Linked DNA regions of Homo sapiens: regions 1, 2, 3, 5 and 6 are each linked to region 4. Evidence: promoter capture Hi-C in 16 types of primary human blood cells and fetal thymus (Javierre and others, 2016). All regions are on one chromosome and are shown on one strand. The core of a region is centred on a gene start or on the middle of the fragment in contact, and the rest is flanking DNA. Distances in the headings are between cores, read along the strand shown.

Region 1 (4,607 bases), core at 96-2,595, 1.2 Mb after region 4:
ACAACACATGTATGTAGAACGGGCTTTTGAAAATAGGCATAAAAAAGCTTTTTATCACCTACTTCTTTCTGTGTAAATACCACAAACAAGTAAACAATAACAAAACCAAAACACCTCTTTTCTTTGTATTCCTTACTTGGTTTGTTGAAACATCTTTATCTTTTACTTCCTCTCTACCTTCCCACATTCAATTGGTTTCCAAGTCCTGCAGGAGGTACCTCAGATGTGCTCTCTACCTAAAGGAACTCATAGAGTTTGAGAACCACTGTAGACTGCATTAGGATCACCTAGAACACTTGTTAAATCCCAGGGCACTGGGCCCCATTCCCAGAGTTTCTGATTCAGGAGGTCTGGGCTGCGGCCTTAAAATGTGCATGTCTGAAAGTTTCCAGATGATGCTTCTGCTCTGGGGACCACACTCTGAGAACCTGTGGTCTAGGGTGAGTTACAGATCTCTAATATCACCAAGAACAGGGCAGGCCAGCTGGAATAGCAGCTCTACAGAAGTGACAAGCACAGCAGAAGAAAAGAAAGGAGGGATTTGCTTTGTCTGCGATAAAAAGTAAGGCTTTGGGAGGTTTGCCTTCAGTTGTTCTGGTTCTTCCAATTTGCCTCATTATTCGCTAATTCAATACAATCAATTTATGGTGTAGAAATGCTAATTTTGGGCTACATAGGATTTTGTATTTGAAAACAACTAACGGTTTAAGGGAGGAGGAAATAAGATACAGAAGCAAACAATGCAATAATTTGATTTTTTTCCCTAAACGAGGCGTAAATGATTACAGAAGTCCCCTGATTTATAGTGGCAAAAAACTCGCAACCATCAAGCAGCTGGGGATGGGAACTGTTGGGAAAAACTCAAACTGTGTTTTTTCCTCTGCTCTCATACCACACATCAATAATCATCAACACAAAAGACTTCTGTGACCCCAAAATATGTGGATATTTCTCCCCCCTAGCAAACAAGCAATCAATTCTGCAGCAGACACCAGCTGGGTGTCCTTCAGTTCAGTTCCAACACTATCTACCTGGAGATCATGTCAGATTCCACAGGCAAAGGGCTCAGTCCTCAACATTGCTCCACCGTCTCAGGCACCAGTTGCAAGTTCAGGCCTCTAGAACTTCTGACTGACCGGCTTCAAGTTGGGGTTCTCACAATCCCCTCTTTGGGTTTAATTAATTTGCTAGATTGGCTCACCAGACTCAGGAAACACTTACTTTTGTTTATTGGTTTATTTATTTATTTTGAGATGGAGTCTTGCTCTGTCACCCAGGCTGGAGTGCAGTGGCGCGATCTCGGCTCACTGCAAGCTCCACCTCCCAGGTTCACGCTATTCTCCTGCCTCAGCCTCCCGAGTAGCTGGGACTACAGGTGCCCGCCACCACACCTGGCTAATTTTTTCTATTTTTAGTAGAGACGGGGTTTCACCGTGTTAGCCAGGATGGCCTCGATCTCCTGACCTCATGATCAACCCGCCTCGGCCTCCCAAAGTGCTGGGATTACAGGCGTGAGCCACTGCGCCCAGCCTTTTATTGGTTTATTTTAAAGGATTTTCCTCTTTTTTTTTTTTTTTAAGACAGGGTCTTGCGCATGTGCCCAGGATGGAGTGTAGCAGTATGATCATAGCTCATTGTAACCTTAAACTCTTGGGCTCCAGTGATCCTCCTGCCTCAGCCTCCCAAATAGGTAAGACTACAGGCTCATGCCACCATGCCTGGATAATTTCTTTTATTTTTCATAGAGACGGAGTCTTACTATGTTGGCTGGGCTGGTCTCGAACTCTTGGGCTCATATGACCCTCCCACCTCGGCCTTCCAAAGCGTTACTGGGATTATAGGTGGGAGCCACAACACCTGGCCTATTTTAAAAGATACAAATAAGCAGCTAGAGAAGAGGTACCTAGGGTGAGGTCTGCAAGGGTCCCAAGCACAGGAGTTTCTGCCTTGTGGAGTTGGGGTGTTCCATCTTCCTGGCACATGAATAAATTCTGGTTCACCTTCCTGTCAGCCTGCATGTGTTCAGCTCTCTGAACTCTGCCCTTTTGGGTTTTTATGGAGGCTTTATTACATAGGCATGATTGATTAAACTATTGGCCATTGGTGATCAACTTGACCTTCAGCCTCTCTCCCCTCCCCGGAAGGTTGGGGGGTGGGGCTGAAAGTCCCAACCCTGTGATCATGCCTTTGTCTTTTTAGTGGCCAGTCCCATCCTCAATCTATCAGTCAACAATTGCATATGAAAAAAAAAAAAGCACTTTGGAGATTCAAAGTATTTTAAAAGTTGTATGCCAGGAAAGGGGACGGATACCAAATATATACTTCACAATATCACAGGGGCTCTTTGTCTCTCTGAAAAACAGATCCATTTGGCCAAGACCTTCACCACCCAGAATCACATTTCTTTCCTGGCTCAAAAGTACACACAACATTAACACCTCATCCTCCTCCCTTATATCTCCTCCCCTACTCCCCAGCTTCTAGCCTAAACTAGAATCTGCCCAACAACATCGGAGTCCGTATCCCTTTTCATAAGTCCTTGTAACAAATGATGAAATGTCTAGTCTGCATTCAAATTGCCAGACAAGCAGGGCATGAGAGGGCAGAGAAAAAGTGGAGGAGAAAGCTGTAGCTGGAAGCTTCCTCTGTCTCTCCTGTTCTTCGGGACCACACTCTGCTCCAGTAATTTGCAGAACCCCATAAACATTGGACTCTGCCCTCCTGGCGAGTGTACATCACCACTGTGCCCCCACATCTGGTCAGAGGAGGATGTTTGGCTGTGAGCTGGGACTAATCAGAGTAGCACAAGATGGAGGAAAGCCAGCACTTATTTTCTCACTTCCTCATAGCTTCTGTCCCTCCTCCCTCTTGCCACACTTCTAGACATGCAAGCAAATGTTTCTTCCTAGAAATGGACAACACTGACAAATGAGAGCACAGAGAAGTGTAATTCACAGGATTTTCACAATTGCACAAAACAACATTGTAAGAATACAAATTACAATGTTAGAGAAAAAAGAAACTCTAGAATCCCACCATTTTAATGTTTCCCATAAACCACAGACATTTTTCAAAAAATGGGGCTTCCAGTCCTTATATTTGCACACATATTTGTGATCAGAATATTGATCGAAGGTCCTTGCCCTGGCTGCCCATTTGAATCACTAAGAAATATGGATGTCCAGGTGTTGAGGCTCAGATATATGTACCTCTATTTTGGTTAAATTTTTATTGAAATAAACATATATTATAAATGTGAAGCTAGATAGATTTTCACAAACTGAACAAAACTGAGTGACTAGCTTTCCAGATTCAGAAACAGATTCTCACCAGCAGCTCAAGAGAGCCACTAGGGCCCCTTTCTAGCTACTGCAGCCCAGTGAAAGTTGTCAACATCCTAACTTCTAACATCATGGGTTAGTTTTGTTTGTTTTTGAAACTAAAAAAAAAAAAAATTAAAATAATATCTACTCCTGTGCTAGCTTCCTTCCCTCAATGTTATATGAGATTCACTTATATTTGTTGCAGGTAGTTGTGATTTGTTCATTTTCATTGCTTTATAGTATTTCATTGATTGAATAAACCACAATTTATTTATCCATTTCACTGTTGATGGGCACCTAGGTAGTTAACAATTGATAAATTGGAGCATATTAAAGTTAAGGAACAACAAAATTTAACAAAAGTCACCATTAAAGAGAGGGATATGTGAAGAAAAATATTCTCAATACACATATAAAAAATAAAAGACCTGTACCCCAGTGAGAGGGAATGAATATATAGACAGGAATCCTATGTATTAACCAGTAAAACACAGCTCAATTTTAAAAATACTTGGCACACCTCAGAGAAAATATGCAAATACTCAATAAATATATGCTCAACTTCATTTATGGCTCAGGAAATAAAAATTAAAATATCCACTGGAGTGGTTAAAATTAAAAAGATATAAAATACCAAGCAATGGTATTGAATATGGAACAATGGGGATTCTCATATTGCATTGGTGTGAGTGTTAATTTGTACAACCATTTTGGAAAACTCTTTGGTGATATCTATGAAAGCTCATCACATGCATATCCTGATTTAGCAATTCTATTCTCAGATATACACTTCACAGAGATGCATACATATGTGCCCCAAAAGATAGGTACTATATAAGATGTTCTTAGTACTACATTTGTAATGGCCCCAAACAGCTCTTTATGTTTAAGATGCTCTACAGGTGATTCTTAGGACCAATCAGGGCTGGAAACTATGACAATAAATATACTTTTAACAGAATTTTAAGTTAAAATTGCATTTTATGTGCTGACTTAATAGGGAAATTATAAGCCTTTACCTTTCTCCTTTGTAAGAGACAAAGCCTTAATAATAGTTATGGCTAAAATGTATTTATCTATAAAATACTAAGGTTTTTTGTTATTTGTTGAAATACTAAATGTTTTCAAGATCATTTCTATTTTTTATGTGGTAGAATCTTAAGAAGTATTTGGCTTTGATGATAGGATCTAATATGGGAAGAGGTTAAAGTCAGGAAAAAGTAGTAATAATTCCTTAGTAATAAATCTGTACAGTAGTACAATATAACTTGGTCCTCAGCTACA
Region 2 (4,459 bases), core at 1,517-4,016, 1.2 Mb after region 4:
ATTTTTGTATTTTAATAGAGATGGGGTTTCACCATGTTGGCCAGGCTGGTCTCAAACTCCTGACCTCAGGTGATCTGCCCGCCTCGGCCTCTCAAAGTGCTGAGATTACAGGCATAAGCCACTGCACCCAGCCAAGTGTGAATTCTTTAGCACACATCTCAGAGGCGGTTATAAGGATTAAATATCCAGGGGGGAGAGGATGATATTACTCCCAATATCGCAGGGGGTGTAAATACCTTTTTCTATCTGTCCTGATCTCCTTGCTCATAGGCTGTCACATGGAATCTTCTGGGGAGCTGTTCTTCATATTTTCCAGCCCCAATACCCTTTTTACAAAATTGGGTAGCTGTTAATACATTGATACTTGGGCACAGAGTTGGCATTCAATAAGTAGCTGTTAAGTAAATGAATCAAAAGAAGTGCAAGATACAAGATACATGGTCCCTTCTGTCAAAGAGTTTATAAATCAAGTATGAATGATAATACCTGAAACTACTTTAAAAAATCTATGTAAAGGGCCGGGTGCTATGGCTCATGCCTGTAATCCCAGCAGTTTGGGAGGTAGAGGCAGGTGGATCACCTGAGGTCAGGAGTTCAGGCATGTTGAAACCCCATCTCTACTAAAAATACAAAAAGTAACTGGGTGTGGTGGTGCACTCCTGTAATCCCAGCTACTCAGGAAGCTGAGGCAGGGGAATCACTTGAACCCGGAAGGCAAAGTTTGCAGTGAGCTGAGCTCATGCCACTGCACTCCAACCTGGACGGCAGAGTGAAGAAACTCTGTCACAAAAAAACAAAAAACAAAACAAATCTATGTAAACACCATGATATGTGACATGTCAGGGTAAGAGGAACAACTAATAAATTTTGTAGACATTCAGTAAATGGAGAGAAAGGTTTTTGGAGATGAGGAGCTTGAGCTAGACCTTGTATGTGTGCTATTAGAAGCTTTCTGGGCTGGACACATATAAAAACTGCCCTTTGATGCTAATAGTATTAAAATTCTGTCTCCTCAGAAGCAGACTGCCTATTGCTTTCGCTTTTAAAGAGATTTAGATCCAAGCATTCCATTATGCAAGCCATAGAAAGACCGTTTTATGTGAAGATGCACTTTGATTGCACTTTCCTCTATCTACATTTTATTGTAGTTAGTTGTTTAGAGCTCTCTCTGTGTAGAGTGTGGGATCCTTGAGGTCCTTAAGGGAAGGGACCTTGCTTGCCCTCTTTATCCCCTGCATACTTTGCGTAAAGGAGGCACTCCACAAATGTTTACTGAATAAATGCTACACTCCTAATGGGTAAGAATGTGTCATATTATTCTTTGTTTTCTTATGTGCACTGAAACGAATTGTTTCTTGAGATTGGTTCTTAGAATATTTATTCAGTTTTCACTGATTCTTTTGCTACAGGTTAGCTAACCATGTAGCAGATGCTTGAGTTTCACCTTTCTCCAGTCCAGCAGAATTATATTTTGATGACCTCCATTTTGATGCTTGTAGACCAGCTCTAATCCAAAGATTGATCTTTAGGTAACAGATGGAGAGTGATAAGGATAACTTCTGTGAAGACAAACCCATGCACACATCCTGTTGTCCGAATAATGTTTAAATGAATCCTTCTGCTCCCAAGCCATCAACTTGCCCCTTAACACACATCTTTCTAGAGCCCAAATTTGAGCTCCTTGTAGAAGATCTTTGCCCTCTTCACTCTCCAGGCCTTCCTAATTAACGTCTTCTCAGAGTTTACCTTCTCTCTGTCTTAATCATTAGTTAAAAGAAAAAGTGGCTGGTGTAGCATCTGGGGATACATTGCCACACCCATTTCCTTCTCTATGATCAGGATTTCCAATTTCCAAGCCTGATGGGCTCTCCCAGCTGGAACAGGATCTACAGGTCTTTGATCTGGAAACTAAGACTAGAGAAGTCTTAAGAGATGACTTCTCAGGTGAGGAAGGCAGAATCAATCAGATGGAATTAGTAGGGAAGTAAAGTTCAATTGTTGAGCCAAGTTGTAGCTGCTTTGGCACTCAGAATGAAGAGTTCTGTGTGTGTCCCAGCATGGAGAGTTATTTTCTTTTTCCTTCAGTTAGGTTGACCCTTTCCATTTGTTTAGGACCTGTGCACATGTTGTACTGGACCGCTAATCAAGTTGCTTATCTAAAATTCTTTCAAACTCTTTCCCTATTATCTCCTTAACTGGTGTCTTCTTACTTTGCTAAAGATGTCCGCTGTTTTACCTCACTGCTCCTGTTCATGCCCTTACTTCTGCTGTTGAGATTTTGAGCCTGTTTTTCAGCATAAATAAACTTTTCTTGTCCTTGTAGATATTACATTGTTCAGTTTTCTCATCTGAGTTTTCTTTTCCTAAGCACAGGGTACAGATTACATTTGTATCTTCTATTTATATATTGTATCAGATGGAGAGACCAGAGAACAAGCTGTTGATTCCTAAGGAGAAAATTTCAGAAGAAGTACATTCATGCAAAGTGATAGTAGGAAGACTCAAACACAATATTACCTAAGTTCCTGAGACTAGAGAAGTGTATAAGTCTGAGGACAGATTAGAAAGGCTTCAGGAAATTCTAAGGAAATTCCTGTACCTGGAGAGTTTAGGCAAATAACAATCAGCAAAGAAGCCTTCACCAGTGAGAAGAACAATGAATGTAATAAACCTGAAAAAAGCTTCAGTCTGGACTCTACTATTGATGCAGATCAGAAAGTTCTTAGAATACAGAACACTGATGATAATGATAAGAACGACATGAGCTTCAGCCAGAATTCAGCCTCTGGTAAACATGAACACATAAATCTAACACAGGATTTTCAGAGTAGTATATGTAAGGAAAGCTTAATGGATCTCTCCCTCCTTAATAAATGGGACAGCATCCCTAACACTGAGGAATCCTATAAATGTGATGTATGTGAGAAAGTTTTCCATCAGAGCTCAGCCCTTACTAGACATCAGAGAATCCATACTAGAGAGAAGCCCTACAAATGTAAAGAATGTGAAAAGCGTTTCAGTCAGAGCTCGAGTCTTAGTCGACATAAAAGAATACACACTAGAGAAAAACCTTACAAATGTGAAGCATCTGATAAATCCTGTAGTCCAAGCTCAGGCATAATTCAACACAAGAAAATTCACACCAGAGCCAAAGCTTACACATGTAGCAGTTGTGAAAGAATCTTCAGTCATAGTGTCCACCTTACTCAACATCAGAAAATTCACAAAGAGATGCCCTGTAAGTGTACTATATCTGGCAGTGACTTCTGCCATCCTTCATATCTGCTTGAACATCAGAGGGTCCACCATGAAGAGAAATCCTATGAATATGATGAATATGGGTTGGCCTATATTAAACAAGGAATTCATTTCAGAGAAAAGCCCTATACATGTAATGAATGTAGAAAAGACTTCAGATTGAATTCACATCTTATTCAGCATCAAAAAATTCACACAGGAATGAAACTGCATGAGTGTAATGAATATGGAAAAGCTTTCAGTCAAACCTCATGCCTTATTCACCATCAAATAATGTATAGGAAAGAGAAATCATATAAATGTAACGAGTATGAGGGCAGTTTCAGTCATAGCTCAGACCTTATCCTGCAACAAGATGTCCTCACCAGACAGAAAGTCTTTGATTGTGATGTACGGAAAAAGAACTCCAGTCAGAGAGCACACCTGGTTCAATATCGGAGCATTCATACCAAAGAGAACTCATGAATATAACGAGGGTGAGAAGACATTTAGTCTAGTCAAATTCAGGCTTCATTCAACATCCGGGAGTTCACACCAGGGAGAAATCATGTACGTACTGCATGTGGTAAAGCCTTCAGTCATAGCTCAACCGTTACTCAGCATCAGATAATTCAATTTTCATGCTATTAATAATTTCATACCTTAGTCACATTTGGAGAATTCGTATGGGAATAAAATTCCATTACTGCAATGAATGTGAAAAAGCCATCAGTCAAAGAAACTACCTTGTTTAGTATCAAATTCATGCCATGCAAAAAGATTATGAATGTAATAAATGTGTATGTGCACGAGGAGATTCAGTCACAACCCAACGCTCATTCAACATCAAAGAATCTATATCTAAGAGAAGTTATGTGAGTGTAGTGAATGGCAAATCTTTCAATAGGAGTTTAACTAGTCTTTTTTATATCAGAATATCCATAGTAGACAAGAATTTGATGTAATGCAAATGGAAAACTTGACAGCACATGTCAGGCTTTACCCAACATCAAAATAGTGGAAAGAAAATTGTTGATTATTTATTTATGAAATTGTTAATACATAGTCTCAAACTTTATCATTGCACAAGAATCTAGTGGTGACTTGGTAAATGCAGTGCCATTTTCTCATGGCATTCCTTTATTTAATATGTGTTCTAAGTAGGTACATTTATTTTTACTTTTTTATTATAATAATTTTGATATTAAAAAGAACAGAGATG
Region 3 (4,064 bases), core at 1,432-3,931, 1.2 Mb after region 4:
TTTAAACTGTACATGGTATGCAATTTTTACAGTATTGTTTGCCATTTTTGTTAAATGTAATAAACTCTCCTTTTCTTCTAGAAATTGAAGCTTTACTTTTGGCACAACATATAAGCAGACACTTATGGTCTAGAGAGAGGGACAAATGGCAAACAGGAGTTAAAATTGAAGATGCCAGCACCCAGGGCTGTGCTATGCCCTTATCTCTTGAGCCTTGGAACAGAAGCTGAGTCAGCACTATTTCTCAGTTGCCTGTAGCAAGGGAGCTTCCCCATCAGCTGTTTAAAGACAAATAGAAAGGAAGAGAAAGGAAGCCTGCATTCCCTTGGGCTCCCTCTGCATATTTTAGGCATGAGTCAGCTCCCAGGGCTGGCATTTGTCCCTCCATTAACAGCTAAGTTCCCTATGTCTCCAGACAGACAGCTCTCGAAATAGCCAATGCCTGGGCAAATGACCTGCAAGTGGGAGGGGACAGTCAGAGAATGCCAGTTCTTGTTGATCCTGTGGGGTGGGAGTGGGGATGGACAGCTTTCAGCCTTCAGTTAAGATAGGAAGTGGAGGAGAACATTCTCCCCTGGTTCTCACTTTAGAGAGAAGAATCAATCCTTATGGCATTAACGTTTTGGATTTTTTGGTTTTAACATGTCTCAAACCTATCCACTCAATATAGCTCATTTTACTCCAGGGAAATTTTTAACATGTCATCTCAGCCAACCTACATTCACCTAGCAATACTTAGATAAATGTTATGGTATACACAGACAAGAAACTAGAACACAAAGCTAGGAAATTTTTTCATTTTCATTTTGTAATGTCTATTCTCTGCAATATGGAAAAAATTGCACCAGTTAGGTTTTCAGCCTAAAGCAGTGATTTGAAAACTTTATGTAAGAATCCGCTGAAAGTTTTTAAAAAGTTCTAATGCCAGGCCTCCCCCAAGCCAATCCTGTTAAAATCTATGGGGGTAAGCATCAATATTTCTAGATTTCCCCAGGTATTTCCCATGAACAGCCAAGGCAGAGAACCACTAATGAGTATCGTTTACACAAGTAATGACAGACAGGTGTCTCCATTGAATTCATGGTGTATTCATTGCCATTATCAGTTAGCCCTCTAAGAGTGTTGATTTGATTATCATGATGGTATTTATGGAGCCTAATACAATCATAATCATTGTGAAGCAAGCTAGGACAAGAGTCATGTGGGAGGCAGAGGTTTCATGAACCAGAGGGTAACTTCTATCAGTCATCAAACCTGAAGGAGCCCAAAGCATTGATCAAAGTCAGAGGTACTGGGCCCTGAATTCAGAGAAATGGAGGATGGAAGCAAAAGTAGTGGATCTGGTATAAATGGGGAGTAAGCCAGGGAAATTTTCTTGAATCATTTATCTCTGCAACTAGATCTTGTGGGCCAGATGCAATAGGATACTTGGGAGGGCCTGCTGTGTTTAAACAAAGAGGAACAACAGTAAATAAACTCCCAAATTCTTTTAGTCCCTGATGTGATGATTTTTAGAATGATTTTTTTTCTAGTCAAGAGATTATTATCCTTTTGTCAACAGAACAATCACATTCATTCATCAAATGTGTTGAGTGCTTTTTCTGTGCTAGGTATATCACTAGTTGCTAAGGATACAGAGATTAAATAAGAGACAATCTTATATCTGCCAGAATCCATAACCTAGATGTGGAAAAGGATGCATAAATTGAAATCTTTTAAATAAAATGTGGCAAAAAACTATGCCAGATCAAAGTTCCATGGATATAGTGTTAACTTTAACGATATTAAAGTTCATTGATTTCATTTTTCTTCTTCCATTTTCTATACTCTGGACTTGTGTTTTTTGCATATGATGTAAACTCATACTCTATGGGTTTGCCTTGTTTTTGTCATTTGGGAGAGGCACAGAGTGAGCTATAGGAAAGCTATGAAGGGGCTTGAAACTCACACCGTTATGATCAATTAGTGCAGTTTCAAAAAGCCCGGTCTTGAACATGCTTAGCTGGCTTGTCTTCTTAGCTCTTATGTAATCTTTAAGTCACTTAACTTCCTGAAGAGGAATTGAGTTTTCTTGTTGACCTGTAAAAATAGCAAAAATTATGACTTAATTGCAGAAAACTCCAGACTCTGACATTTGAAAGACTTATTTTTCCTACACGTATAAATCAAGGTTACCTGCTCTGAATTTTGTAGCCTTAGTATTCTAATAGGGTTCTTGTACAATTTTTGCTAAATAAAGCATTCAGACTCCATGACTGTTCAAAGCCATCTCTGATGGTAGTTGTACACCTTTGCCAAATATTAACCCATAAATACGGTCTCATTTTGTTTAACAAGAGAGAATAATGCATCTCCCTAAGTTTTGAACTCATTAATTCCCCAGGCATTCTAGCTAAAAAGCATACTTATTTTTTTCTTTGATAAGTCACATGCCTGTGTCTGTCAGTTCAATAATTTATATAGAACAGGGAGTTTTAAGCATGGTTATTTCACTGTTGATGATCATCAATAAATTCATCACATTGTGGGGGAATTTTCATAAAATTGCTTATATCTTGTCTTGATTATTTCTTACTTTGTGACTCAATGATTGGGAACCAGCTGTGAAAGTTGATCACACAAATTGGGTCATTCTTGTTATACTCAACTAAATCAGAGTTGAGGAACCAGGGGGAAAATGCACTCAGGGCATATCATATTGCTCCAAGAATGTAATTCTCTGCAAACCTGGCTGCCGAAACTGCCTGTTTTAACGTGAACCAGTTTTAATATAATAGCTACAGAAACAGCCTGCTGTAACTCTACAACTAGTTTCAGCCACCACCATCGTTCACCAACCAGAGCTTGCCAGCTATCCAAAACCTTACTAGTGCCAATGAAATTACTTTCAAAATAATATGTAACATTTGTCCTTTTTATAAAAGCCTCCAACCTTCTCTTTTTTCTTTGGACATACTAAAGGCCAGCCAGTCTGTGGGTATGTGCTGAATCCAATCTTTGCTTCCCAAATAAAATGTTTTAAATTTAGAGATTAGTCTTTATATTTTATCTGACTTCAACACAGCTATGGGCTGATCTGTAGAACTCAATATAGAAATCTACTGTCCTGGTCAAGACTGGTAGAAATACTCTCTTTACAAATCATATCTGTGTTAATTTTGAATCTGCAAGTGAGTAAAATAGGAATTTGCTCTCTCATCTCTTGGAAATTTGATCCAAATCTATAGACATTGTGGTCGGAGAACAGTGAATGCATGAAGAGAATGGTCCCATAAAGTTGAGATCGAGGAGCCATTTTTTGCCGTGAGCTTTCTAACGAGTAAGAAAAACTTGTCTTTAGAGAGAGACTGAAGAGTAGAGCAGACAGTACAGAGGTGAGGAGAGGAGAGGCTGTGTGACTCTGGAGAAATGAACGGGGAAAACCTCCTTGAACCTCACTCTAGTTTTCCAAGTCTTGTGAAGCCAGACTGGGCTTTTGGCTCTGTGCAATTCCTCTGTATCTTCTCAATAAACCCTTTGTATTCGTGTTTACTCAATGGGGATTCTATTCCATTCGCTAAAATAAGCCTGAAATTAAACCTGTTGTTTCATTGCATCTGCTTCATTCATATCTCTTATATTCGTTGCAGTTTTTTTTTCCAGACACCATTCTCCTATGGCCTTTTCCTATGGTTTCTCTCTCCTTTCCTTGGACAAAGTAGTTCCAGTTGCAGTTTTGACATAATAGAGGGACAGAAGGCCTTCCAGTCTATTCTGGAGGCATCTGGCACTGCTAGCTCACCTGGGGCCAGGCAGGGCTGCGGCCAGCCCATGATGTGCCTTTGTGTGTACTTTTAAAAGGTACCCCTTCCTCTAGGTGGACTAAGGCCCACACAGAGCATAGGGCTTTCAGGCAGAGCACAGGCTGAATTCAGCCACTCTTCTTCCTTGACTGGGCACCCTTGACAGGTATAATCTTCACAATCTTATGTGGTGGCCGAGTCATGGACCCATACATATCCTCCAGGCAGTTGAGAAAGAAAAAAAAATCCACAAATTAGAGAAAGTGACCCCAGCAGAGTCAA
Region 4 (4,260 bases), core at 564-3,063:
ATTTAGTCCTTTCTCAATGCTTCAATTAACTGATGATAACGCTCAGTCAACATTTATCGGGCACCTATGATGTTCATTACGGCACTTCATTCTGTTAAAGAATAATAATCTCTTTATCCTTTTAACTCCCGATAATAGCTTTTTACACATAAATTTACAGTTCTTGGAATCAATGTATCTTAACATATCTTAATCATCTTTCTTTTGTAAGGAAGACTTTCTCATTTTAAAGGCTTTGGGTTTTTTTTCTTACAGCAAAATCATTTGGCTTGCGTTGTTAACACGTTAGTTTGAATTTTTTTTTATAAAAGCCAAATATATATAAGCAATGCTTTTCTCTCTGAAAATTTCTCCTGAATCTTAGCTTTTCAACAATTTGCTATTTTGTAGACCATATTCATGATTTGTTTACTCATACACACTTACTAAGGAGATGTTTACTCAGCTCCAAAATTCGTGTTAAGACTAGGACAGGCTCAAATCTATGACAAACAGAATCCCCAAAGAATAACTTTAAAGGTTATGTAAATTTCTGGAGGTATCTTATTATCTTTCTATTAAAATGTCAACATATTCTATACTTTTTCTCCATCCATTCTGGCAAGACACCATGCTATCTTGAGATTAAGCTAAGTCTCCTGGTTCAGATTCAAATCCCTGCTCAATAATCTCTTTATGGCACTCTGGGCAGTGTCTTCATCTGTGAAATCGGGATAATGATTTTATCTACAGTATTGGGTTGCTGTAAGGATTAAATATAAAGCATACAGCATGTGCCGGACATAGAGCTAGCACTCCATCCATGTTAGCGCAGGATTTCTGATTCGTCAGCATCATTACTCAATAACTATCATTCGGCCCTTTTAAATTGTTTCAGCGACGACTGAATGAACTTATTTATAAATGTATAACATAACTAGGGATGAAGTCATACTACATTGAGGTTTCATTTCCACATAGATAATATTAGGAAGCAGCTATGCCAACACTTTTTCTTCCTGTGATCTGTATACTGCAGGGTCTCTAGAAACAATGGTTTGGTTCTTTCCTGGTGACAAAGGATAAGAGAAGATGAAACTGCTACAAATGGCAATAACTTAAAAATAAAAGATACAGAAATATATGGAAATGAAAAACATATACCTATACATACACAGCTGTTTTTAAAACATGACCTTTATTCTCGAAGCTCAAACTTGATTTCCAGGTACAGCAGGCCTCTGTAACTTTTCTTGGCAGTGAAGTCATGAAGTCTCCTGTCCTCTAAAGCTACAGAAATTTAACCTGGAAGCAAGCAGTAGGCACTACGCACAGCACAGAGGGAACCCTGGGGTGTACGCTGTGGCTCCCACCTGTCCGCCAGGTCATTGTGACGCAAACGCTATGGCCACGTGGAACACCTGCCGGAGAGCAGGGGCGGGGTCACTCTGGGCGGCGGATCCGAGCGGGGGATACCCCAGGAGATGGGGGTCGAGGAGAGACCCCGGGGAGTAGAGAGAGAGAAACTCACTCCCCGAGTCCCCGACCCTCCCCAAGCAAGGTGAGGTCAACGCCACCCACCTTCCCCCGGTCACCCTGGGAGGGGTCGCTCCGGCGGGCGTCTGCTGGAGGGTAGAAGCGGGGAAGGGAGGCAGCGGCGGCGCCCAGGCGGCGGTAGGTAGCCGGGCGGCGAGGGCGCCCGCACCCCCCGGCCGCTGCGCTGCGCTGCGGTGCGCACGGGCTCCGCCGGTTGCTATTCCGGCTGGTGGCGGCCGCCGCAGGAAGGGCCGGTTCCTGCGCTCCCCCCGCCCCTTTCCCTCGCCTTCGGCTGACGCTGACGTCGGATGAGTGATCCGGAGGGACGCTCCGACCGCGGCCGGGAGGCTCCTGGGGGCCGGGGCTCCGAGGTACCTGCCCTCCGGGGTCGGGGCGGGGGCGCGCCGGGCGGGCTGCAGGAAGCAGCAGGAGACGCCCGGCAGCCGGGACGGTCGGGGACGCCTGGTAGGAGCTGCCTTCTCTGCCCTCCGCGGGCGGCGCGTGATAGGCGAGTCGCCTCCTCGGGTCCCGGATCCCGGTGCGGGAACCGCATCAGCCCCTTCCCCTCCCCTCCTCCCTCCGGCCTGGGAAGGTCTGGAGGATGCGCGCGCCGTGAGAGCGTGCGTCAGCCCCGGGGGAGCGGTAGGGAAGCGTTCCGCGCTCCGGCCCCAGCGCTGGGAGCACCGGCACCCATGCCAGCCCACCCCACCCACCCACCGCGCGCCTCGCCTTCCCGGCGGCTCCGGCCCCAGGACCCCGAGCTCCCTGGTGGGCAGGGACTTGCGTCCAGGGTTGACTTGTTGACAAGTTCACCTGCCGCGGCGCCTGGTGTGTGCTTTTTCTCTTCCCCTCCGTGGCCCTTTTTTTGGCAGGGGCGGCAGAGAGCATATGGGTACCTCTTTATAACCACTAGTGCCAGGAGGCCTGAGCTTGGTCCCCCGGGGGCGAGGTGCTCAGCAGTCTCGGACTAGACGGGGCGAGAACCCCTAAGCAACCCCGGTTCCAGCAAACCCTGGCGCGCCCGTTTCCTTTGGGCGCTGCTGACTCCGCCTTTCCTGCTCCGGGGCTATTGCAGCTCCTGCTTCCTCTAGAAACGAACATATCCTGTTGTTATGTCTGCCTTTCCCCCAAAGCGGCTCTCCAGGAACCTTTCCCACTGTCTTTTTACTTGTAGTACCCCCAAAGCACCTGAGCTTCTCTTTGGGGTCTTAAAAGTATCGCGCCCTTATTCTGGCGAAGGGCATTAACTGCCTGGTTGGGGAGAGTTAGTTTGGAAAGAATCGCGTTCTCTTCATTTAGATGGCATTAAAAAATTAGCGCAAGAAAGGGTTTTGTTCATGAATCTTAGTAACCGAGATCTGGTAACGGTATAAAAATTATCAAGGCCTGGAAAATATGTCACCAGCTTGCTTGGGAGTGATACTGAATGTAGGAAGAAAGACACATAAGGCATTTATTGGCCATTAAGGTCCTATAAAATATGACTCATCGCAAACATGTTTTTGTCCATACGTTTCAGTGAAGTCTCTTCGGAAAATCTCAAATTGGTTTCTGTGGCCCTCTGGTTTGAATCTGAGATCTGAACTGTTCTGTGGTTAGGGAGTGAAATAAGAAATGCTTAGTTTGAAATCTAGGCTCCCGATGCAATTTCATACCCCCTGTTTAAAACACACACTCTCTAAAAATGCTTTTAAGTAAGTTTTCAAACCAAAGATATATTTTTAGATTTCAGTCTTTATTTTTGAAACACCCTTTGTAGAGAATACCACAGGGACAAAATCAATTTATAATCCTGAATAGCTCAAATATCACTCTTTGGTTTTATACTAATACTGTACATACATCTTAATTGCAGGAGATGTTGCTTTCTAATTGTTTCTGTTTGTATTACAAAGGGAAATAATTGTACTGTTTATAAAGATGAATCTTTAGAAAACGTAACAGTTAAGCTACAGCGGGCTATTTGTGGAGAGACCTGATGTTAAAAAACGTTAACCCTGTATCCTCCACCCGTGGATCATTGAGTGCTAAAGATACTGGATGGTAATTGCCTGGGTGGTTTATTTTGTAACTATTTTCCCCCATTTGGAACACCTGAGTAACTATCTGACTGCTTTCTCTACGCATCTTTACCGCAGTGCATAAAGATCAATCTCACGAAAAGTATAGAAAATTTTGTTACTCAGAGCCTTCAAAATCAGTACGTTTTCAAGGTATTTGACTAAATAGTACATTTTTTTCAGGTGCAAGCAGCATTAGCGGTATGGAGGTCTGGTAGTTATGCCATAACGTAGAAGGATAAACCTATGTTTGGTATGAACTTTTAAGATTATAGAAACCTCATGCGAGAGAGGGAGGAAGTTAACAGGCCCCAAGTGTCAGGATGAATTTTTCCTCTTCGTTGGTTGAGCCTGAGGGTAGGTGGCAGTGTTTATAATCAGCACGCTGGTCACTAGTGTCCTTTTTTTCCATCTGCATTACTAGATTTATGGGAACCATTAATAAGGATGCTATCTGCATGTTTTGTCCATGAGGCAACATAGATCACTAATGAATCTTATCCCCCAACCCCACCACCATTCGCAATCTGCCTCAGCAGAACTTTAAACTCAAAAAACACTTTTCCCCCGCTTTTTTCTTGATTCCCAAGCTGATACATTTCGTATCACAATCATATCTAACACTCTGAGGGAGTATGGAGGACTCATGGGCTTTGGATCCTGATGGAGCAAAATCAGAATCCCT
Region 5 (4,187 bases), core at 214-2,713, 1.3 Mb after region 4:
ACCATTCGACTACTACACCAACTCCTTTACATACTATGCTCAGAGATAGAAATGGACAGAGGTAGCCTCACAGAGAAACCCGAATTTCAGACTGTTATTTGCTTGCTCTGATAATTTCCTGTCAGTCTTCCTCACCTTTGTCCTGTCACCAGATGTTCTAGATCACAGCCAGATGCCGTGGGGAGATGTGTTTTTCTGTCTATGCTGGGGCCTGATGGCTGAGACATGCTTGGTCTGAAGGATTTTCTGAGGGTGGGGCTGACCCTGCCATACCCTGTGAGTTCAGCTTCTAAGCCGGTTACTTAACATTGGACAAAAATAAATCACTTTGAAAAGGTGACCCAAAATGCTCTCAATAAACAGTAGCTATGATTGTTATTTCAAGGTCTGCCACAATTGATCTGGACAGTCTGCATATAGCCTACACTTGGTGCCAGTTTCTTAAAGAAAGCATCCAGACCACAGAGGCAGCCTTGATATCTCATCACTTTTGCTCTCAGCTTTCTGCACTGCAGATATAGCAGTAAGCATCATTTGTATCTGCAGCCTCTGAAACCCTTCAGTACCTCCTAGGAAACAGTGGTCCCCATTATGGTGTTAAATACCTAGCTTTGGAATATTGGGCTGGGTGCTGTCATGATGGCCAAGTTAGGGTAAAAGTGAAATGAGTCTTCAGCTGCTGCAAGGATGTACTGATGGCTGGATTCCAGCAAGCCCTTTCCCCCTTTGGTGGGTGTTGTTTAGAGTAGTTATGACTGAGATGCGGTGGATGGGTTGGTCATATCTAACAAGCCTCAGGAATGACAAAATGATTCCCTTCTGAGGACCTTTCACTACAGCAATACAGAATGTTTTTGTTTCATCCCAGAGAGATGTTCACAACATTTTATCCAATGAGAAAACCAAATGATAGCAGACTATTTGGACTATAGCAGACTATATAGGATGATATTACATAATGCAATGCCCGGGCCCCATTATGGCATTTTCTTCTCTACTCTATTTTTCTCTATAGCACTTACCTTCATTTATATATGTAATTTATGTGCCTTGTTAACTCCCCCTCTTCCTCTGCACCATGAATGTAATAAGCTCCATGCCCCATAATGCAATAGATACTCAAAACATATTATTAGTTTAATGAAAAAATTAAACCCTAACTCTCTCTGACAATCCTAATCATAACCTCCACATGAAGGAAAAGGACTTAGTCTGGTCTCTAGCCACGAGTCTAACTTTCAGCAGCTAAAAACCCTATTCGCCTCTCCTTAATGTGTTCAAGAACAGCAACGATATCAATATGACTGGGATGTAATGAACTAGGGAGAGGGAAGTCAGAGATACAGTTGGAAGACAATGAAGGTGGATGTTTGTCAAGCTTCTGGACTAACAATTCCACTCTGATTTTCTGGGGGCCTGTTACTCCAGGGCTCCTGATTCCTATTTCCGAATCTTTCAACAGTATCTATGACTGCACAGGGTGTATCTATGTCTGGACAGGGAACAACCTGGAAATGCTTAGGGGAATTCTGTTTGAAGAAAGCTTTTGTTTATTTAACACACATTGTGTTCAGGGACCTAAGCTAGATAATCTTACATTCATCATTTTATTTAACACTGTAAAATTATACATTCCTTACCCATGAAAATGTCCAGTTCATCTGTCTCTTTCATTCCCATACTTCTCTCCCATAGCCTGCAACCAAGCCTCTAATCATCAGCTCCTGTTACTGCTCTCAACAAATTAGGTCACTTATGGCTTTACTAATTTCCCTTTCAACTTAAAATATTCAAGCTTGAATTAGCCAGTTTAGATTGGGTTATGCTGCAGTTACAAAATGACTCCCAAGTCTCAGACACTTACAACCAGAAAAGTTTGTTTGCTCACTCCAGCTACATATTGATCATGGGTAGGCTGTGACCCTTCTCTACATAATTTTCATTCTGGGCCCTTGGTTGGGGGAGTCGCTCCTACCTGGAATACTGGCAGAGGAAAAAAAGTTGGTGTTGAGCTACATCGTGGTTCTTAAAATTTCTGCTCACAAGTAACACCTGTCACTTCTACTCACATTTCACTGGCAATAGCAAGTCACCTGGCTACACTGATATCAATGGGCTAGATATAGCATAATCCTCCCCCAGGGAGGGGCACTGCATATTTTTCAGCAATAATAGAACATACCAAAAGAGCATCCCTGTGGAGGCACACTCACTGTACCTGTCCTCCCGAGCCCTCTTATCCTTCTTCCACACACACTGTGCCAAACACAGAACCTGGATCCATTTCCCCCACGTCTTGACTCTGGCTCTCAGACTGCCCCATGTTATTGGAGGCTCTGCCCTCTCTGATGGTGCCAGTCCACATTCATGCTTGGGTTTTCCTCCTTTGCTGGACCACCATGATGCCCACTCATCTTTTCTTTTTCCCCTCATTAACTCTGATATTTGTCTGTTATTTTCAAGTTCACCCTCACAACATCCCAAGCCCTTCAGTACCTGCAGAAGATGAGCCTCCTGTTTTTTATGGAAAACAGGGGCCTGTAAGTATGAATTCTTCTAAAACTTGTAAACCCTTCTCTGCATTCCTTTTCTCCTCTCTGCTCTGCTTTTCTCCACAACACTTATTTATCATCATTGACATACTTAGCTTATAAATCTTGTATGTTGGTTAAAATTAGGTGTCAACTTGATTGGATTGACAGCTGCCTAGAGTATTGTTCCTGAGTGTGTTTGTGAGGGTGTTGCCAGAGGAGACTGACATTTGAGTTGGTGGACTGGGAAGGAAGACCCACCCTCAAGGTGGGTGGGCACCAGTCAATCAGCTGCCAGAGCAGCTAGAACAAAGCAGGCGGAGGAAGGTGGGATAGGCTTGCTAGTGGAGGCTTCTGCCAGAAGCCTTTTTTTCTTCTTCCCATGCAGGAAGCTTGCTTCCATTCCTCCTGACCTTGGATGTGGGAAAAAGAAAGAGAGATCAGATTGTTAATGTGTCTGTATACAAAGTAGACATAAGAGACTCCATTTTAATCTGTAACCCTACCCCCAAACCTGTGTTCCCTGAGACATGTGCTGTGTCAACAACTCAGGGTTAAATGGATTTAGGGTTATGCAGGATGTTCTTTGTTAAACAAATGCTTGAAGGCAGCATGCCTGTTAAGAGTCATCACCACTCCCTAATCTCAAGTACCCAGGGACACAAAACACTGCGGAAGGCCACAGGGACCTCTGCCTAGGAAAGCCAGGTATTGTCCAAGGTTTCTCCCCATGTGATAGTCTGAAATATGGCCTCGTGGGAAGAGAAAGACCTGACTGTCCCCCAGCCCGACACCCGTAAAGGGTCTGTGCTGAGGAGGATTAGTAAGAGGAAGGAACGCCTCTTTGCAGTTGAGACAAGAGGAAGGCATCTGTCTCCTTCCCGTCCCTGGGCAATGGAATGTCTCGGTGTAAAACCCGATTGTATATTCCATCTACTGAGATAGGTGAAAACCACCTTAGGGCTGGAGATGGGACCTGTGGACAGCAATACTGCTCTTTAAGGCATTGAGATGTTTATGTGTATGTATCTCTGAAGCACAGCACTTAATTCTTTACCTTGTTTATGATGCTGAGACCTTTGTTCACGTGTTTACCTGCTGTCCTTCTCTCCACTATTATCCTATGACCCTGCCACATCCCCCTCTCTGAGAAACACCCAATAATGATCAATAAATACTAAGGGAACTCAGAGGCCAGTGGGATCCTCCGTGTGCTGAACGCCGGTCCCCTGGGCTCCCTTTTTCTTTCTCTATACTTTGTCTCTGTGTCTCTTTCTTTTCCAGGTCTCTCGTTTCACCTAATTAAAACACCCACAGGTGTGGAGGGGCAACCCACCCCTTCACTTGGACATCAGACTCCAGGTTCTTCTGCCTTTGGACTCTGGGACTTGCACCAGCAGCTTCCCCGAGGCTCTCAGGCCCTGAGCCTGAGACTGAAGTTTGCACTGTGGGCTTCCCTGGTTTTGAGGCTTTTGGACTTGGACTGAGCCACCACCAGCTTCTCTCTTTCCCCAGCTTGCAGACAGCCTATTGTGGGACTTTGCCTTGTAATCCTGTGAACCGATTCTCTCTAATAAACTCCCTTTTTCATATACATGTATCCAATTGATTCTGTCCCTCTGGAGAACCCTAGTACAACTAATTTTTTCTCTGCTG
Region 6 (4,594 bases), core at 1,836-4,335, 1.2 Mb after region 4:
CCCACTACCGCCACCAACCCTAGGCAATCACTAATCTCATTTCTGTCTCTATTGATTTGCCTATTCTGAGCATTATAGCTCCATTTAACAAAAAAATTTTTATAAACCAATGATTCTTAAACTTTTTAAAATCTTAGGACTTCTTTAGAGCCTGAGAAAATTATTTAGGACCCCCAAAGAGCTTTTGTTTACCTGAATGGTACTGATCAATATTTACAGTATAAGAAATTAGAAAAGAAAAATTTTAAAAATATTTATTTATCTATTCTTTTTAAATTAATGATATATGCTCCATTGGACTCAGGCTCCAGACCTGAACCCCAGATGCAGGATCCAGGCCCAACCCTACAAATCTGGTTTCCAGGCCTGCCCCAGTAGACCCCAGCACCAGGGCTGGCCCCTGCATACACACACTCATAAACCCAGGCCCACACTCATAAACCCAGGTTCAGGACATCCCCGCCAGACTCCAGACACTAGGACTGCCCCAGGGCTATATAAGCCTTTGTATTCAAGATCAGGAGTTCCCCCCAACATCAGGTTAGCCCCCATGGACCCAGGCTTCTGAAATACCCCTGTGGCTCTAGTTTCCAGACCCACATAAGTGGACCCCAGCACCAGAAAACCCTTGTAAACTCAAGATCCAGCCTTGCACTTACAGACCTAGATCCCAAAATTAACTTGATGGATCAGGGTACTAGGATCATCTACCCACTGACCAAACACCAGACCAGCTTGACCAAGTCTGTGGAACTCCCTAGAGCTTCTTAAAAATGATTATTTTGCATTCTTCTTTAGACAGTTTATAGATCTCCATTTCTTGTTGTTGTTGTTCCCTTGGTAGTGTTATCTTTCCCCAATTATCTATAATCCTGTGGCCTTGCATTGGTATTTGCACAATTGAAGAAGTAGGCACCTCTTTCAGTCTTTATAAACTGGCTTTGGCAGGGAAAGCCCTTCACCAGTCAGCCTGTCCAAAGATTCTGAGTTCCACAAGTATATGAAAATTAAACAACATGCTACTTAACAATGAATGCATCAAAGAAGAAATTGAAAGAGAAATTTAAAAAAAATCTTGAGAAAAATGAAAATGGACAACAGCATACCAAAACTTATAGAAAGAAGCAAAAGCAGTTCCAAGACAGGAGTTTATACCAATAAACACCTATATCAAAAAAGAAAAAAAGATTTCAGATAAACAGCTTTCTGTTACACCTCAAGGAATTAGAAAAAAGAAAAGCAAACTAAGGCCAAAGTTAGTAGAAGGAAGGAAGTAACAGAGATGAGGGTAGAAATAAATGAAATAGAGACCAGAAAAGCAATAGAAAAGATCAATGCAAATAAGAGTGAGTTTTCTGAAAAGATAAACAAAATCAACAATATTTTAACTAGAGTAAGAAAAAAAGGGAAAAGAATGAAATAAATAAAATCAGAAATGAAAGACAAATTACATCAGGTGCCACAAAAATATAGTGTCATAAGAGACTGCCATGAACAATTATATACCAACAAATCAAAGAACCTAGAATAAATAAATAAACAGCCACCAAGACTGAGTCATGAAAAAATAGAAAATTTGAACAGACCAATAAGGAGGAAAAAGATTGAATCAGCAATAAAAAGAAAAGCCTAGGACCTGATGGCTTCACTGGTGAATTCTACCAAATACTTAAGGAACTAATGTCAATCCTTCTCAAATTTTTCCAAAACATTGAAGCGGAGGGAACACTTTCAAACTCATGTTATGAAGCCAGTATGTTAATACTAAAGTCAGGTCAGAAAACAACAAGAAAATAAAATACAAGCCAATATCCTTGATGAACATAGATGCAGGAATTCTCAGGAAAATACTAGCAAACCAAATTCATCAGGACATTAAAAGGCTCATTCACCATGATTAAGTGGAATTTGTCCCTAGGGTGCAGACTTTTAAATATAAATAAATTAATAAATGTAATATACCACATTCACAGAATAAAGGACAAAAACCATGTGATCATCTCAATAGATTAAAAAAAAGCATGTGATAAAATTCAACACTCTTTTGTGATAAAAACACCCAATAAAGTAGGAAGAGAGAGAAACTACCTAAACATAACAAAGGTCATACATGACAAGTTCACAGATAACATCTTACTCAACAGTGACAAATTGAAAGCTTTTCCTTTAAGATTAGGAACAAGACAAGATTGCCCAATCTCCCCTCTTCCATTCAATATAGTACTAAGCTGGGCATGCTTGTGTACCCCTATAGTTCCAGCTACTTGGGAGGCTGAGATGGAAGAATCACTTGAGCCCAGGAGTTTGAGTCCAGCCTGTGCAACATAGCAAGCCTCCATCTCCAAACGAACAAACAAACAAACAATATATGTAGTACTGGAAGTCCTAGCCACAACAATTAGACAAGAGAAAGAAATAAAATCATCCAAATCAAAAAGAAAGAAGTAAAATTTTCTTTGTTTGCAGATGACATGATTTTATACACAGAAGAATCCTAAAGACACCATCAAAAAACTGTTAGAACCAATAAATTCAATAAAACTGCAGGAGACAAAATCAACATACAAAAGTCAGTAGCATTTCTGCATACTAACAATGAACTATCCAAAATAGAAATCAAGAAAGCAATTTCAATGACAATAGCTGCCAAAACATACATAAGAATAAATTTAACCAAGGAGGCAAAAGATCTGTACATTGAAAACTATAAAACACTGATGAAAAAAATTGAAGAAGATACAAATAAATGGAAAGATATCCTGTGTTCATAGGTTGTAAGAATTAATATTATCAAAATGTCTATGCTACCCAAAGCAGTGTACAGATTCAATTCAATGTCTGCCAAAATTCTGATGATATTATTCACAGAAATAGAAAAAAAAAATCTTAAAATTAGTATGGAAGCACAAAAGGCCCCGAGTAGCCAAAGTCATCTTGAATAAAAAGAACAAAGCCAGGAGATAAATGGAAGATGGATATGGGACAGGGCTGATGTGCAGCACCCACTTGGACAGACACAACAGTGTATAAAGACTCACACCATGGACTTTTGGTTCAGGAACAATAGCAGCACCATAACAGAAAAACTGAAAGAATTCACAGATCCTTTGAAAGAAGTGGCAGTATGCTGTATATTCCATGAGACAGGCAAAAAACCGTGCATTCCCAAAGCGTGAGCGGGGAAAACCTGCCTCTGAATACATGTTGCCACTGGAGAGCCTGAAAATTCAAATCATGAGGAAAGGACTTAACCTTACCTAGAGATTAAACGGATTTAGCATAAAATATAAAAATAGAAGCAGCAGGGGAAGAGCCTTGTAGGCACTCTCGTTCTCCAGCTTGAGCCCAGAGAAGCCATCCCTGACTATATCTCACAGGGAACCTTGGTGAAGGCAGCTGGCAAAATTCGGGAGGGGTCACAGCATGAAAGGAGCTTCCAACTGAACTATGTAATAATTTTGACTGGGTGCAAACTTTCTTGAGCAGAATCTGGGGGTGAACAGGAATTGCCTCAAAGAGTAGAGCAGGAGTTGAGGCAGACAGTGTGGACAGACAGGAAGGGGCATGGCCTGAAAGCCTTGCTTGCTTTCTCAGTGGGGAAACTTATAGTCTGGGGTAAGGTCTGAGTCCTGTGGACAGGCTGCCTGGAGACAAACTTAGCGCTGTTAGCAGGGTACAGTGGAAAAGATACCAGTCTCACCAACACGTGGGAACTGGGTAAGGCCTATCACTAATGCCTTTCCACCACTTCCCTAGCCACGGATGCAGCCATAATTTCCTCTGGAACATAAGCCTATTGGCCCAAGAACTACCCCCTATCCCCCACAGTGGTCACAACAAGCCCCACTCAAGTGTCTGAGCTCAGACCCACCTAACCCTGCTCCCACCTGATGGTATTTCTCTACCTGTCCTGGTAGCGTATCACAAAATATAAACTCTTGGGAGCTTTATGACCCTTCCCATTGCCTGAGAAACCCAAATAGTTACCCTGGTCAACTTAGGGCAAGCTTATATCCACCTTCTACTATCATAGCTGGTGCCCTCTTGAAAGCACCACCTCCTGGCTGGAGGCCAACCAACTCAGATCCTTATAGCAACTCATGACAAAATAAGCCTGATCCCAGGAAGAACAAGGCAACAGCTAATTCCACTGCCCGCAACATCCTGGCTAACCAGAGTGTGTCCTGAGTGTGTCCATGTAACAACTTCACTGCTAGCGTAACAAGTATTTAAGAAGCCAGCACACTAAAAATATCTACAACCGAGGACTGTCACAGAGTCTGCTTCACTCCCCTGCCACCTCCACCAGAGCAGGTGCTGGTATCCATGAATGGGAGACCTGAAGATGGATCACATCACAGGATTGTTTGGAGACATTATCTAGCACCAGCCCAGAGCTCAGTAGCCCAAATGGGTGGCTAGACCAAGAAGAGCAATAAGAATCACTGCAGTCTGGCTAACAGGAAGCCCCATCCCTAGGGAAAGGGGGAACACACCACACCAAGGGACCACTTCATGAGACAAAAGAATCTGAACAGTAGCCCTTGAGTTCCAGACTTTTGTGCAGAAATAGTCTACCCAAATGAGAAGGAAT

The links. The method cuts DNA at HindIII sites, captures the fragments that hold promoters and counts their contacts. A CHiCAGO score of 5 or more calls a contact.
Region 1: a fragment that was not itself captured here is called in contact with the fragment with the promoter of ICA1 in region 4 in 1 of 17 cell types (naive B cells); the score reaches 6.3 in naive B cells.
Region 2: a contact is called between a fragment that was not itself captured here and the fragment with the promoter of ICA1 in region 4, in 3 of 17 cell types (total B cells, total CD4 T cells and activated CD4 T cells). The highest score is 6.3, in total B cells.
Region 3: a fragment that was not itself captured here is called in contact with the fragment with the promoter of ICA1 in region 4 in 3 of 17 cell types (naive B cells, neutrophils and total B cells); the score reaches 8.8 in naive B cells.
Region 5: a contact is called between a fragment that was not itself captured here and the fragment with the promoter of ICA1 in region 4, in 2 of 17 cell types (naive B cells and total B cells). The highest score is 9.2, in naive B cells.
Region 6: a contact is called between a fragment that was not itself captured here and the fragment with the promoter of ICA1 in region 4, in 3 of 17 cell types (total B cells, non-activated CD4 T cells and naive CD8 T cells). The highest score is 6.1, in total B cells.

Annotation. Positions count from the first base shown.
Region 1 is chr7:7,049,614-7,054,220 of GRCh38, reverse strand. All of the region lies in intron 1 of LOC105375138 (a long non-coding RNA gene), which reads right to left. Among named protein-coding and RNA genes, the nearest start is that of MIR3683, 15 kb to the left of the region's middle. The HindIII fragment of the contact is 2,592 bases long and covers 50-2,641 here.
Region 2 is chr7:7,077,559-7,082,017 of GRCh38, reverse strand. The region is part of intron 1 of LOC105375138 (a long non-coding RNA gene); the gene reads right to left. It also overlaps the pseudogene LOC100131257. Among named protein-coding and RNA genes, the nearest start is that of MIR3683, 13 kb to the right of the region's middle. The HindIII fragment of the contact is 165 bases long and covers 2,684-2,848 here.
Region 3 is chr7:7,096,005-7,100,068 of GRCh38, reverse strand. It overlaps LOC105375138 (a long non-coding RNA gene), which reads right to left. Exons shown (of 5, transcript XR_927009.3): 3 at 1,951-2,079. It also overlaps the pseudogene LOC100131257. Among named protein-coding and RNA genes, the nearest start is that of MIR3683, 31 kb to the right of the region's middle. The HindIII fragment of the contact is 5,178 bases long and covers 93-4,064 here.
Region 4 is chr7:8,259,720-8,263,979 of GRCh38, reverse strand. It overlaps ICA1 (islet cell autoantigen 1), which reads left to right and starts at 1,813. Exons shown (of 14, transcript NM_001136020.3): 1 at 1,813-1,886. It overlaps ICA1-AS1 (ICA1 antisense RNA 1), which reads right to left and starts at 1,755. Exons shown (of 6, transcript NR_125740.1): 1 at 1,561-1,755; 2 at 1,154-1,400. The HindIII fragment of the contact is 9,065 bases long and covers 1-4,260 here.
Region 5 is chr7:7,001,464-7,005,650 of GRCh38, reverse strand. The region is part of intron 1 of LOC105375138 (a long non-coding RNA gene); the gene reads right to left. It overlaps LOC124901585 (a long non-coding RNA gene), which reads left to right and starts at 2,463. Exons shown (of 2, transcript XR_007060204.1): 1 at 2,463-2,540; 2 at 3,816-4,123. RefSeq lists an enhancer at 2,890-3,528. The HindIII fragment of the contact is 165 bases long and covers 1,381-1,545 here.
Region 6 is chr7:7,031,911-7,036,504 of GRCh38, reverse strand. All of the region lies in intron 1 of LOC105375138 (a long non-coding RNA gene), which reads right to left. Among named protein-coding and RNA genes, the nearest start is that of MIR3683, 33 kb to the left of the region's middle. The HindIII fragment of the contact is 1,849 bases long and covers 2,161-4,009 here.